Linked DNA regions of Homo sapiens: region 1 is linked to region 2. Evidence: promoter capture Hi-C in human tissues and cell types (Jung and others, 2019). All regions are on one chromosome and are shown on one strand. Each heading gives the region's core, a stretch centred on a gene start or on the middle of the fragment in contact. The rest is flanking DNA. Distances are from core to core; before and after follow the strand shown. Region 1 overlaps WNK1 (WNK lysine deficient protein kinase 1). Region 2 holds the start of NINJ2 (ninjurin 2).

Region 1 (6,996 bases), core at 3,931-6,430, 210 kb before region 2:
GTGGGTGAACCTGACTTGGCAGCTGAGTCACAGGCTGCAGAAGGGTTGGAAGCTGACTAGGAACCACAGTTGATACCCCCGGGATCGCAGCTGTTGTAGCAGATGAAGCCAACGTGAGCAGAGGCTGAGTAATGCCAGCTGCCATTGTGATGGGAAGGGATGAGAAACCTGTCTGAGCCGTAGACACATGAGGAGTTGATATGGGAATCTGAGAGACAGGGTACTGAGGGAGCAAGGGAGTAGGGAGCGGCTGTCCCACTGGAAGGAAATGAGCACCAGAGTGGACTGGAACAACCGAGGGTTGTGTCGCAACTGGGATCTGAGGTTCGCCTTGGATAGTTGGTACTGGCTGGGAAACTGGAAGCTGGGAAGGTAAAGAAAAACAAAACAGACAGGCTTAAAAAAAAAAAAAAAAAAAAAAAAGCAAGGCTGCCAAAAGCAAGATTTATGTATTAGCCAAAAAGAAGGAAAAAACAAACAAAAAAAAAAACACCAAACCAACAAAACCCTGCATACATTAGTGTTAAGTTAATATGCCACATAAGAATATGGAAAGGAGAGCAGGAGAGAAAGAGGCTAAATAGACTATTACTGTTCTACACCTTTTGTCATAGAAATATTTGCTAATGCTTCAGCATTTGGCAATAGAAGAGGACCCTTCCATAGACAAGGGGTTGGCTTTTTTTTTTAACAGCTTTATTGGAATATATTTTATATACCATAATGCTATCACTAAAGTTACGACTGCTGTTACAGTAGTTACTGAAATTCAAATGAATTCCTTCCCAGTGGAATTAAGATTTCATTCGTATTATTTCTAAAATTCTTAAGTCCAACATGGCTCAATAAAAATTGGTATAATTCACATATTTCACTCATTCTAGGATGCAATCATCCCTCTCCACTACCTGATCATTTTAACATGTGAGAAATTGGGATCTACTTTATAACTGATAATGTGGTACATAAAATATGGTACATTTTAAAGTTGATAGCATCTCAGATGTGATGAAATATTAGGGTAACAATACACTGTGCACATACATGCACAACAGTACTCAAAAATAAAGTTGAAAAAAGGTCATTCAGAAAAGCATACCTTCTACAGGGTACTTCTCAAGTGATTAGGAGGACTACTTAAGAAAAAAAAACATTCCACACAGTAAACAGTGCAGAAATCTACATGAAAATAAAGCATAGTTTCAAACCTAGAATATCAGACATAGCTGACACAATTCTAGGGAATGTCATAGGTTCAGTTACCAGAGCACCTTTATTTAACCTGTTATTTCTAATACCTGTTACATCAATTTTGGACTGGTAAGACTAGAAGTGAAACTTTGGATTGTCACTGCTGTCAGTAACGTACCCATTTACATTAAATAATGCATATGCACCAATGAGGTGATCTTCACTTCATTTCTGCAATGAGATTAACCTACTTCAAGGGTTGGTTACCCTTAGAAGAAAAGGTAGAAGTCTATCCACATGAAAGGACAAGTTACATGGAAATCCCTTTTAGCACCCTTTCAGAAATTAAGAGTTTACCTGTTTAAAAAAAAAAAAAAAGTTTACCTGTTTTCCAGCTGATACTTGAGGCAAGACTTGTGGAGCTTGAGGCTGACTCACTGGCTGTGCAGTAGTGGCCTCACTGGAGGTTGATGTCTGTGAAAGTGAATACTGCACTGTCTGTTGAGGAGGGGCTGTCTGCTGTATTCCCTGCTGCTAAGAATAAAATACAATGATTCAGTTTTATTTCAAATCAATAACAGCATGTTTCTAAGGAAGCATGTTTACCTAAAGCCTTCAGTGTCTGTAAATAATGATGATTTTAGTAATCAAGACATGCACAAACCCAAATTCATCAATTTCCATTATATATTTGTTTTCCCTCTGATGTTCTTTGTGATGGTGCCACCAGGAAAAATTAACCAATCTTTTAATACTCAAGTTACCATTGGCTCTTCACCCAATTATCTCCCTCACCCCAACAATAGGTCTTTACAAAGACATTTACATAACATATCCAGACAGTTCCTTTCCCCATCCCATCCCTGCCATTCCCTTTTCCCTATCTCTTGGCATCAGCTCTCTCTTTGGCACCTATATCAGATAGATCCAATAGCTTCCTTTAATCTTTTTTCCTTACCCTATTTTATCAACTGTATAATTAATATGCTTGAAGAATAGCTTTGATTATAGCTACAAAATAGGGAGGAAAGCACTGGATTTGGAATAACAGACATTTTCAAATTTTAGCTTTAATATTTACTAGCTGTTAATGCCTTAGATTGCTTATTTTATTAAAAAAATGAAGTTTCTCTTTTTGAAACAAGGACATTATTTTTTAACTCAAAGTGGGGCAAAGGGAATGACACCTGGGAATCTACTATGTACTAGGGACTCAAGTATAATTTAATGCATGGTGCGTAATTATACACCTAATTTAATGCATGGAACATAACTGTACTCGAATACTAAATTCTGTAATAAATCAAGCAAACAAAACCAAACAAAACAGGACTATGACCCCTAGAGTACTGCCCCTTCTGTCTAACAAATAAAAACTTGAGGCTGGGCGCGGTGGCTCACGCCTGTAATCCCAGCACTTTGGGAGGCTGAGGTGGGCAGATCACCTGCGGTCCAGAGTTCAAGACCAGCCTGACCAACATGGAGAAACCCCATCGCTACTAAAATTGCAAAAAATTAGCCGGGCGTGGTGGCACATATCTATAATCCCAGCTACTCAGGAGGCTGAGGCAGGAAAATTGCTTGAACCTGGGAGGCGGAGGTTGCAGTGAGCCGAGATTGCACCATTGCACTCCAGCATGGGCAACAAGATCGAAACTCTGTCTCCAAAAAAAAAAAAAAAAAAAAAAAAAAATGAAGTTTAGGGCTGACTTTCAAGATCTTCTAATACCTAATTTATATTTTTTCTTTAATACAACATCTGCTTGTAATAAAAATTTTAACTAGTACATCATATTATAAAGTTAATGAAAATACCCCTAATCCTATTCTCCAGAGGTAACCACTATTAGTCGTTTGGTGCATAACCTTCATGGATTTTTTTCTATGCGTAAGTGGCCATTTTCACATAGTTTTCTTTTTTTGTTAAAATAAACAAAACAAAAACATGCCTTTCCTATACATAGTGTTCTATAGCATACTACTTTAATTTCTAAATGGCATCAGTCTCCTAATGATAAACACTTTGGTTGTTTCATTTTTGCTACTTAAAATAATGCTGCAACCAACAGCCTTTTACGTATGTGCTGGTATACCCATACGACTAATTGGTTACTGCTGGTATAAAGATAAGCTATTTATTTGTACATTTATTATGTATCTTGCCACCTTGATAAGTGTCTTAGATTTTGTTAGGTGATAATCTACAAATAATATTTTTGCTCTTCTTATATTTATGTCAATTAAAATCACCAAAAGAATGCTAAAATATAATGGCAACAGCAGTCATGTTTGGTTTATTCCTATTTAATTATTTCTGATAATGTATTCTTTTTTTTTGACACGGAGTCTCGCTCCGTTGCCCAGGCTGGAGTGCAGTGGCGCGATCTTGGCTCACTGCAAGTTCCGCCTCCCAGGTTCATGCCATTCTCCTGCCTCAGCCTCCTGAGCAGCTGGGACTACAGGCGCCTGCCACCACGCCCGGCTAATTTTTTGTGTTTTTAGTAGAGACGGGTTTTCACCATGTTAGCCAGGATGGTCTTGATCTCCTGACCTTGTGATCCGTGCACCTCGGCCTCCCAAAGTGCTAGGATTACAGGCGTGAGCCACCGCGCCCCGGCCTCTGATAATGTATTCTTATTTTAACTTTTAAAGAAGCAGAAATGGCTGCTGAATTACATGAAATTTATTTTCTGCAAACTAAGATAAACCACATGTAGCCAATTCTAAAGGTGCTCTGAATATAAGACAAATTTGTTAATTTCCCACCTGAGAAAAAGGAACTAAAAAACCAGAAAACCTTTTTTATTTGCCAACTTGAACAAATTTAAACTTTAAGGAATGTGAATGAGATATCTATAATTATCTAACTCATTAATTTACACACGTAAATAAGATTGCATATTAAATATATTAATTCAGAAATACTGCTCCCTCTCCCCCAAACTCTACATAGGTAAAGACACCAGCATCTTTACCTTCACTGAAGCTAAATTATGAACGCTCCTGCAGTTTTCTGGCATAACATAACACATTCCATCTAAGTTGTATCTTCAGGTAAAATGTGCAGTGAAAAGCACCTATTTACATAACATTAAAATAAAACTAGATTTTTTTTTCCTTTCTCTTATAGGTTTTTATTCATGTAACCCTTATATTGACATCTTAAAGAGATCTTTAAGCCAGTTGTTTAAAATCACATACAGTCCTCAGAATAGTGAAGTCATATTGCTGAGAATAAGGACTAAATTTATGTTTATTCCTTAAAAATATTCTGTCTGATGTTCTCAATGAACATTTCTAACTACATGAGCTGAAGTCTTTGCAGGCACATTTGTTCTCACCTGTTTCATTTTATTTCATTAACCTTTTTTGGTTTGTTGTTGTTCAAAGTAAAGGACAGTGAAAACCCTGTAATATGAGAGTACGATAAAGGTCTGAATACATGGTTATTCCCCTCTTTTCTAACGGATAAATTTGAGGAAGAATTCCCATGTTATCTTTGGGCATATGGTAATCATATGCTCCCAGCCCCCAATACATCCTCCTTAATTCAAAATTATGCTCATATCAAAATTTAGACTCTATCAACTCTTTCCTGAACTTATACCTTCACATATCTATGCTCTAGTTAAACCAAACTAAAGGCACATTTGTTTTTGTACCCTATTTTTCTATCTTAGGGCCTTTCACATTGCTCACAGTATAATTTTTTTATCTTCTGGCCTGGAATATTCTTTATTTCTACATCTGAGTCTAACTTATAATCAAAGTCCATTTCAAATGCCTCCTTTTTCCTAAAGTCTTCCTGATATTCCCTTTCCTGCTTGGGAGAGATGTTAATTTCTTCCCTTTTTTTGGACATAATTGGGTAGTAGTCAAATGGTGAGCTGTGGAATTAGATTATTTGGATTTAAATTCTGTTTTTACCTCTTATAAGCTGTAAGTTTGGGTAAACTACTCACCTTCTCCAGATCTCAGCTTTCCCATCAGTAAAATGGAAATAATTATAGCATCTATACTTATAGGGTTCTTAAAACGATTAAATGAGAATGTAGGTACAATGTACAAAGCACTTTAATATTAGCTATTATCCTTATTTGTTTTTTAGAAATTTACATATATATTTACTATATTATTTAGACTCTTTCAAAGTAGTCATACCTGGTCCAGCTCGGTAGACCTTCAGTATCTGAACTCAATTAGGAAAAAAAGCTGAAAGGACTGTCAAAAATGAGCAGTTTTATGGACAAATTATTTCTTTGCTTAAGACAACTGAGAGGCATCTATGACAGTGACCCTTGTATTAACATCTTAAAGAGATCTCTAAACCAGTTGTTTACAATGGCTAACGGTTAATGTTACATCTTAGAGCATCTGGGGAGAAGTGTCACCTCTGGATATGCCAGAAGTACATGATGATCTGCTGTGCGCAGTCCCACTGACTAATAATCAGCACTTCAGCCAGGCAGGGGTGGTCTAGCTTAACAGTTTAGCATCATGCTCTGCCCAAGCTTGCCTCATGAAACCAGTTCAAACAGACTTTATGGATAGTAGGGTAGGTAGTTCACAACTTCGGTGCTTTTTTTTTTTTGAGATGAGTCATGCTCTGTTGCCCAGGCTGGAGTATGGTGGCAATATCATAGTTCACTGTAGCCTTGAACTCCTGGGCTCAAGTGATCTTCCTGCCTCAGCCTTCCAAGTAGCTGGCACTGTGTCTGACAAAGTTCACAACTTTGTTTGTGGTCACAAAGCTTTTCAGCAGGAGGCAGCTATTTTTGGTACCTTGCTAAGATCTAGTATATCACTATACGAGACCCTACAAAAACACACAAAAAAGCAATTCCTCATTTACTATGTTCAAGAAACGCATGAAATAAAGTAAATTTTAGCAAAAGTATATTTCTTTCCTCACTAAAATAAAACAAGAGATATGGTTCTCTAAGGTGGGATTGGGACCTGAAAGTACGTAAAACAAAAATCATGTCTAAAAATAGACTATCCATATAGTACAAAAAGTTTTCAACCTTTCTTTTTTCAAACGTGGAACTCCAATAATTAAAACAAATAAAGACAGCTTCTGAGGTACATTTGCAGAATCATTAAGTCCCTGCAGAACTTTATTTAAAATGGAAGAAACAATACTATTCTAGGAATCTTGAATTCTGGGTTATAATTTGTAGCTCCCTTATTATCTAAGTGACTTTGGAGAAGTTAATTATTCTAGACCGAATACACTTCCTATATATATCGAGGGCTCAATTTTGTGATTCTACAACACATGCTATAAAAGTATCTAAAACAAAAACATCACTGAAACAAAAATTAATTTTTGTTTCTGCTGTAGAGATAGCATTTAGCCATATTTTTTTCTCCTGGAGAGGTAGCTACCTAATTCTTTTAATCTGACATTTATGGTACTGCTCTCTTCTTTTCTCACACTCTTTCTTAACATGAAACTCAATGAATTATTTTATTATCTTCTTCATTTGATAGTAAGTATACATACATATCCCCAAATACAAGACAGATAACCAATTCCTTTGGAAAAGAAAAAACAGAGCACATACAATTTGCTCAGTTCATTGGTGTTCGTCTACATCCAAAGATAAGCAAGTTAGGAGATTAGTACTCAGTACTTCCATTCTCAACCAGCTTTATGTGACTTGTAATTTGCATTCTAATTAGGAACTGTTAATAGAATAAAACAGATTTTGTTAAGGTTGGCAAAAATATGTTTACTTGAATTTAACCAGTCTTGTTTGGAAGAAAGGACAGGTGCAAAACAAAGCATATAAGTCCCAGTCC
Region 2 (6,174 bases), core at 1,939-4,438:
ATACAGAAATTAGCCAGGCATGGTGGCACGCGCCTGTAATCCCAGCTACTGGGCTGGGGGTTGGGGCCTGAGGTGGGAGGATCACTTAAGCCCAGGAGGCAGAGATTGCAGTGAGCAGAGACTGTGCCACTGCACACCAGCCTGGGTGACAGAGTGAGACCCCGTCTCAAAAAATTAAAATTAAAATTAAAAAAGCTTCATATAGCAATTTGAATTTTATAAAAGGGAAAAATGAAAAAGAAAAACTTTGCTGACCCCTGGTCCAGGGTTACAGCGTGATATGGTAGATAAACCATTTTCCAAAGCCTTTTTTCTGTTTACTTCCAAATGATGCTTATGAGATGGGGAAAGGTCCAAATCCAGAAAGATCTTGCCAAACCAAAACCATTATTATAACCAATTACAGCTGTTTCCTTTTCAAACCAATGTGCTTATTAATAGGAAATTTTTTGAAATATATTCGAGTACTTTTCTCTTTTGCATTTTTTTGTTCCTGTTTCCCTCTATTCAGCCAGATGTATCCATATTATTTAAAAGATAATGAGGATTTTCACAACAGGAGTGCAAAGAGAAATAAATAGTTAATATTTTGCTTCTGGCATCCGAAATAAGGTTTTCCAGAAAGTTTTTTTTTTTTTTTAAGACATGGTCTTGCTTTGTCAACTCAGGCTGGAGTACAGTGTCATGATCATAGCTCACTGCAGCCTTCAGCTCCCAGGCTCAAGCAATCCTCCCACCTCAGCCTCCCAAGTACCTGGGACTACAGGTGCTGCAAGCTGCCACATCTAGCTAAATTAAAAAAAAATTTTTTTTTTGTAGAGACAGGATCTCACTGTGTTTCCCAGGCTGGTCTTGAACCCCTGGGCTCAAGTGACCTCCTGCCTCTACTTCCCACAATGCTGGGATTACAGGTGTGAGCCACCATGTCCAGCCAAAAAGTTCTTCTACAGATGGGATCTCACTATGTTGCTCAAGCTGGTCTTGAACTCCTGGGCTCAAGAGATCCTCCGGCTTTGGCCTCCCGAAGTGCTGGGATCACAGGTATGAGCCATGCTGCCCAGCCAAGACAATATTTTTGACAACCAGGTTTTCTTGAGAGAGAGGATTTTCTAAATTTCTTCATTTCCCTTTGAATTGTTGTCATAGAGTTCTACATCAGATACATCCCAGCCAAACAGGAAAAAAAAAAAAAAAAAGAAGACAAAGCGTACATTTTCTGATTCTAGATTAAGGGGACTATGGGAAGAAGTAATCTCAGCTACTCGGGAGGCTGAGGCAGGAGAATCGTTTGAACCCAGGAGGCAGAAGTTGCAGTGAGCCGAGATGGCGCCACTGCACTCCAGCTTGTGCAACAGAGCGAGACTCCATCTCAAAAAAAAAAAAGTGCTTAGAATAGTGCTTGATACATAGTGGTATTATTATGAGCGGTGGGGTGATAGATATTACTGGTAGACTTTTTAAGGAGTGCTGAGAAGAGTGGGTTCCAGGTCTCATTTCCATTCAGGAATGTGGAAGGAGATCACCTCGCAGACTGCCCTGTGTCAGTTGGAGCAGCCACATCAGAGCAAACTCTGCTGGAAGTGGGGCTGAGCTTGCCTTTCCCCTGCCCTTCGTCAGCAGCCCTCAGTCCCCATGTGCCTAAGGGGGCTCAGGAGCACTGGTCAAGCATCTCACAGGAAAATTTCGAGGGGCTTATCTTAGAGATGTGGGCCACTGAGCGGATACAGTGGGATGGGGGCACATACAAGTCAAAGCCAGGTCTCAGGATGGTCCACATTGCCACGAGCCAAGGTAGCGCAGACAGCAAGGGAGAACACTGGATCTCAAAGGCAGAAAGAGAATCACCCATGAGTGACTCTGGCCTAATATCAGACATCAGCCACCAAGGCCAGCAGAAGACCCAGGAGCAGGACCTGTGTCTCCTCAGCAGTCAGCAATTCGGGCGGGCCCGTGGGCCCAGCAGCTCCAGAACAGAAAGGAGCCGAGATGGAGAGGCCACAGGATAGATGCAAGAACCGTCCCCACCCCGCCCTCCTGTGCACCTAGGTGCCATCTTCTGCAAATCCGAAAGACTGAGCATTGTGTCTAAAGTGGACTGTTTACCATTTAAATGATTAAATCCAACTATGCTTCATAGATTAGACTAAAATATGGCCCCCATCCAATCATCCAACCCTCCCTCGCACCACTGTCCAGAGGGATGGGAACTTATAAAGGCATTTCATAGAACTGAAGAAATCGCCTTTTTTTTTTTTTACATTTGAATGTGGTGAGGGTAAACGTGTTGACTCTGCCTGTCTTCCTCCTGCCCGCACCTCTTCAAGCCCTGAATTGGATTACAGGTTAACACCCTGCCATGCACGTCTACAGACATACCCACACCCACACCTGCACAAGCTTGTGTCTAAACCTTGCTTCAGGAACAAGCCAGAAGAGTTTTGGGCTCTAAGGTAAACAGGAGAGGAAAAAAAAAACTTTCTAAAAAAAGACTCCCTCCTGGTAATTTTATTTTAAAAGTAGGGAGAATACCACTGTTTGCATAAACAAGCTTCGAAGGTACAACTACTCCCTGCTCCCTCTATGGCTAATCAAGGGAGGAGTTGAAGGAATCAAACAATCCGTCAGTAAAAACGTATTGTTCACTCACTTTGCAGAACAAAGCCTATGCTTTGGAGCCTATTAGGTAAACTACAATTTTTTTAAAAACTTTTAGGGATATAGGGAACAAAGCAAAGAACAACGGAAATCCCTCTGCCTCAGTATTGAGACTGTGCTGGAGGTCACTCCACCCGTGGCGACTGGGGACTGGACCCAGCGGTGAAGTCAGATAGCGTTGTCCTCAGGCTGTTTTTCAATTTGCTTGATAAACATGCAGGATTTCTTTGCCAGTCATAAAGCTACTAGCTCAAAGCAGGCTGGGTGACCTCAGATGGCTCCGCTGGGACTGGAAGGTCACTGGAGCCACTGGTGAAAATGATGCTGTCACTACCAACTCAAAAGGTCACCTATCAGTGTGCCATGTGCCACCTCCTGGAGCACACACATGTGCACACACATACACTCACACGTGTGTGCAGGTGCACACCTCCCCCAGAGGCTGCAGCCAAGACGGGCATCCCACATCAGAGGGATGAATGGCAGGTCTGTCCCGCCAGCTGTGTGCTCTCTCCCACCCGAAGAAAGCAGCAGAGACTCAGACGGCGGAGCCTGGAGGAGCCCACGCAGTCTGTTCCCGGCACCCGGTGCGTGTGAAGGGACTTGAGGGCAGCGAGATGGAATCAGCAAGAGAAAACATCGACCTTCAAGTAAGTTCTCTCTGGAAGAGAGCAGAGGGGAGACCGGGAGTAGAGGTGAAGCTGGAAGAACAGAGGATTGATACTTTAGTCACTTGATATTCTCCCTCCCCGTTCTCTTCTTACTCACTCCCTTCTCCAAATGCTCCCTAGGCTTTGTCTCTTTATTTTCTCTTTCTCTCTGTTTCCCTATCTGGTTCTTCACTTGTTTTGAAATATCTGAAAAACAGATTGGTTAACTCCCTTTTGGCCTCTGCTTCCTCTTGTCAGTCAAAGAGCTAATTAGATCCGTATTACCAGAAAATGATTTCACATTCTGAGCAGTGCTTTCCCCAAACCCCAGGACAGTAGAGACTTCTCTTAGAGCTGCCGGGGAGACAGGAAATATATGAGTTTTGAGGCTAGGAAGAGAGGCAGCTGGCCAACTTTGCATTTTACAGGTTGGAAAAAACTTGAGCCGTTTCTCGGCTGTCTTCACAAAGCTCTACTGTGTAGGACAGAAAGCGTCTCATTTGGACAGTGCAAGGAAAGGAAATCAGTCTAATCTCCTAGGAAGAGGCAGAGATGTGTGTCCCTCTGTAGCTGGGATGGGCTTGGAAGGCATCAGAGGTTCCAGTCCACTGCTGGAGGGGAAAGGGTGGGATGTTACGGTGAGAGGAGAGCCAGATTGCTGGGAGCTGCACTCTGTGACTCCTTGCCAATGGATAGAATAGAACGAACCCTTCTATGACCACTGCTGAGGCTGTGTAACATTGCAGAGAATCAAACAAAGTGTGGAAAAGGACTTTTGAGATCAAGAATTTCTGATCCCTGAACCTGGTCCTCGAACAAAATCTTAAGCAGCCACCCAATATACACTTCGGATTAAAGAAGAGCTGTTTTGTTGAAGCAGAGTATGTGCACGCGTCTCTCTCTCTCTCTCTCTCTCTCGTTCTCTGTGTGTGTTTTGGGCAGGGTGGCGTGAGTCTGGCAGAGTCTCTGTCCTTGGCCCCTCCGCCCTTGAGACACCACCAGGGAACTGTAGGACTGCTTGGTGTGCTGTGTCAAAACCATTCACCTAGTACAACTGCATACCCAGTGCTGTTTTCCTGGATTGGCAGCCAGCCCCGAGAGCGGTCCCACCGCAAGGCTTGCTTGTCCCTCTGTCTGGAACCTTCTTTCCCTGGCTTATCTCCTGGCTGGCCCTTCCTAGTACATTCAGGTCTCAGCTCAAATGTTACTTCCCCCAGGAGCCCTCCCCTGACCAACCTCTTCACAGGATGCCTCCTCCCCAATTTGTCTTTATCATTTGTTTAATTTCTTTCATAGCACTGCTCACCACCTAAAGTTACACTGCTTATTTATTTAGTATGTATTGCCTGTCACTCTCACTAGGACACAAGATCTCTGAGGGCAGGGCCTCTCCTGTTTTATTCACTGCTGCAGCCCGAGTGCATGAGGCAACTCTTGGTACACGGTCATTGCTTTAGAAAACATTTGTTAAATGAATGAGTTGAGGAAGCCATGAGTTGGAGAGGCTCTGAGATAGGAATAAGGTCACCTAATTGGCCCAAGACCTCCAGTCCATGTCTTCTGTCCCTAGTATGTGTTTTCTTCTTACTTCTAGTTCTTGCCTCTATAAGATCCTTGGTTGTTAAGGAAATTGTGTTGCTGCTTATTTTCATTCTCAGAAGAGCAAGTTTCTTATGTGCTGATGGGTTGAACGATCCAGAGTTACAGGCTAAGGACTCTGCATCTGAACCAGAGGTTCAGAAGGAAAGAGGTGGTGGGAGGAAGGAGAAGGAAATGACTGGCTAGGCTGGATGAATGTCTCTCTCTAGCAGGTAACTGAGGTGTTAGTGTACCTTTCTCTTCATTTGTCATTCACTCTCTTCTAATATGCTATTTAATTCTTGTATCTTACATTTTCCTTTGCTCAGAAGGTTATCCATTATTTTCTACAATTTATTGTCCACCTTTGGCTGGGCACGGTGGCCTACGCCTGTAATCCTAGCATTTTGGAGGCTGAGGCAGGAGGATCACTTGAGCTCAAGAGCTAGAGATCAGCCTGGGCAACATAGCAAGACCCTATCTCTATTAAAAATTTAAAAGTAATTAGCTAGGCATGGTGGCATGCACCTGTAGTCCCCACTACTCGGGAGGCTGAGGTGGGAGGATTGTTTGAAGCCAGGAGTTCAAGGTTGCAGTGAGCTACAATCATGCCATTGCACTCCAGCCTGGGCGGCAGAGCCAGACCCTATCTCTAAAAACAAAACAATAACACTCTTTAGTTAAAACAATGTTTCCCCAAAATGTGGTACAATTATCACCAATGGGTGGTAAAGGTACATCAATGGCTGACAGCTTTTTATTATAATGTTTATTTTTACAGTTTTTTTTGAGATGGAGTCTCACTCTGTCGCCTAGGGTGGAGTGTAGTGGCAAAATCTCAGCTCACTGCAACCTCCGCCTCCTGGGTTCAAGTGATTCTCCTGCCTCAGCTTCCCAAGTAGCTGGGATTATAGGCATGTACCACCACACTTGGCTAATTTTCATATTTTTAGTAGAGACAGGGTTTCATCATATTGGCCAGGCTAGTCTTGCACTCCTGACCTCAAATGATCCACAAGCCTCGGCCTCCCAAAGTGCTGGGATTACAGGTGTGAGCCACCATAGCTGGCCATCTTTATAGTTTCAGTATTCATTAGAAAGAGCATAACAGGGCCGGGCTAGGTGGCTCACGCCTGTAACCCCAGCACTTTGGGAGTCTGAGGTGGGCGGATCACGAGGTCAGGGGTTGCAGACCATCCTGGCCAACATAGTGAAACCCTGTCTCTACTAAAAATACAAAAATTAGCTAGGCGTGGTGGTGTACGCCTGTAGTCCCAGCTACTCAGGAGGC

What was found. The method cuts DNA at HindIII sites, captures the fragments that hold promoters and counts their contacts. A contact is called where the count stands out against the background at its distance.
Region 1: a fragment that was not itself captured here is called in contact with the fragment with the promoter of NINJ2 in region 2 in 1 of the 25 tissues and cell types used here (dorsolateral prefrontal cortex).

Annotation. Positions count from the first base shown.
Region 1 is chr12:872,941-879,936 of GRCh38, reverse strand. WNK1 (WNK lysine deficient protein kinase 1) reads right to left here. Exons shown (of 28, transcript NM_018979.4): 10 at 1,576-1,725; 11 at 1-364. Among named protein-coding and RNA genes, the nearest start is that of RAD52, 73 kb to the left of the region's middle. The HindIII fragment of the contact is 5,080 bases long and covers 2,641-6,996 here.
Region 2 is chr12:660,459-666,632 of GRCh38, reverse strand. It overlaps NINJ2 (ninjurin 2), which reads left to right and starts at 3,188. Exons shown (of 4, transcript NM_016533.6): 1 at 3,188-3,305. The coding sequence starts at 3,273. The HindIII fragment of the contact is 21,671 bases long and covers 1,297-6,174 here.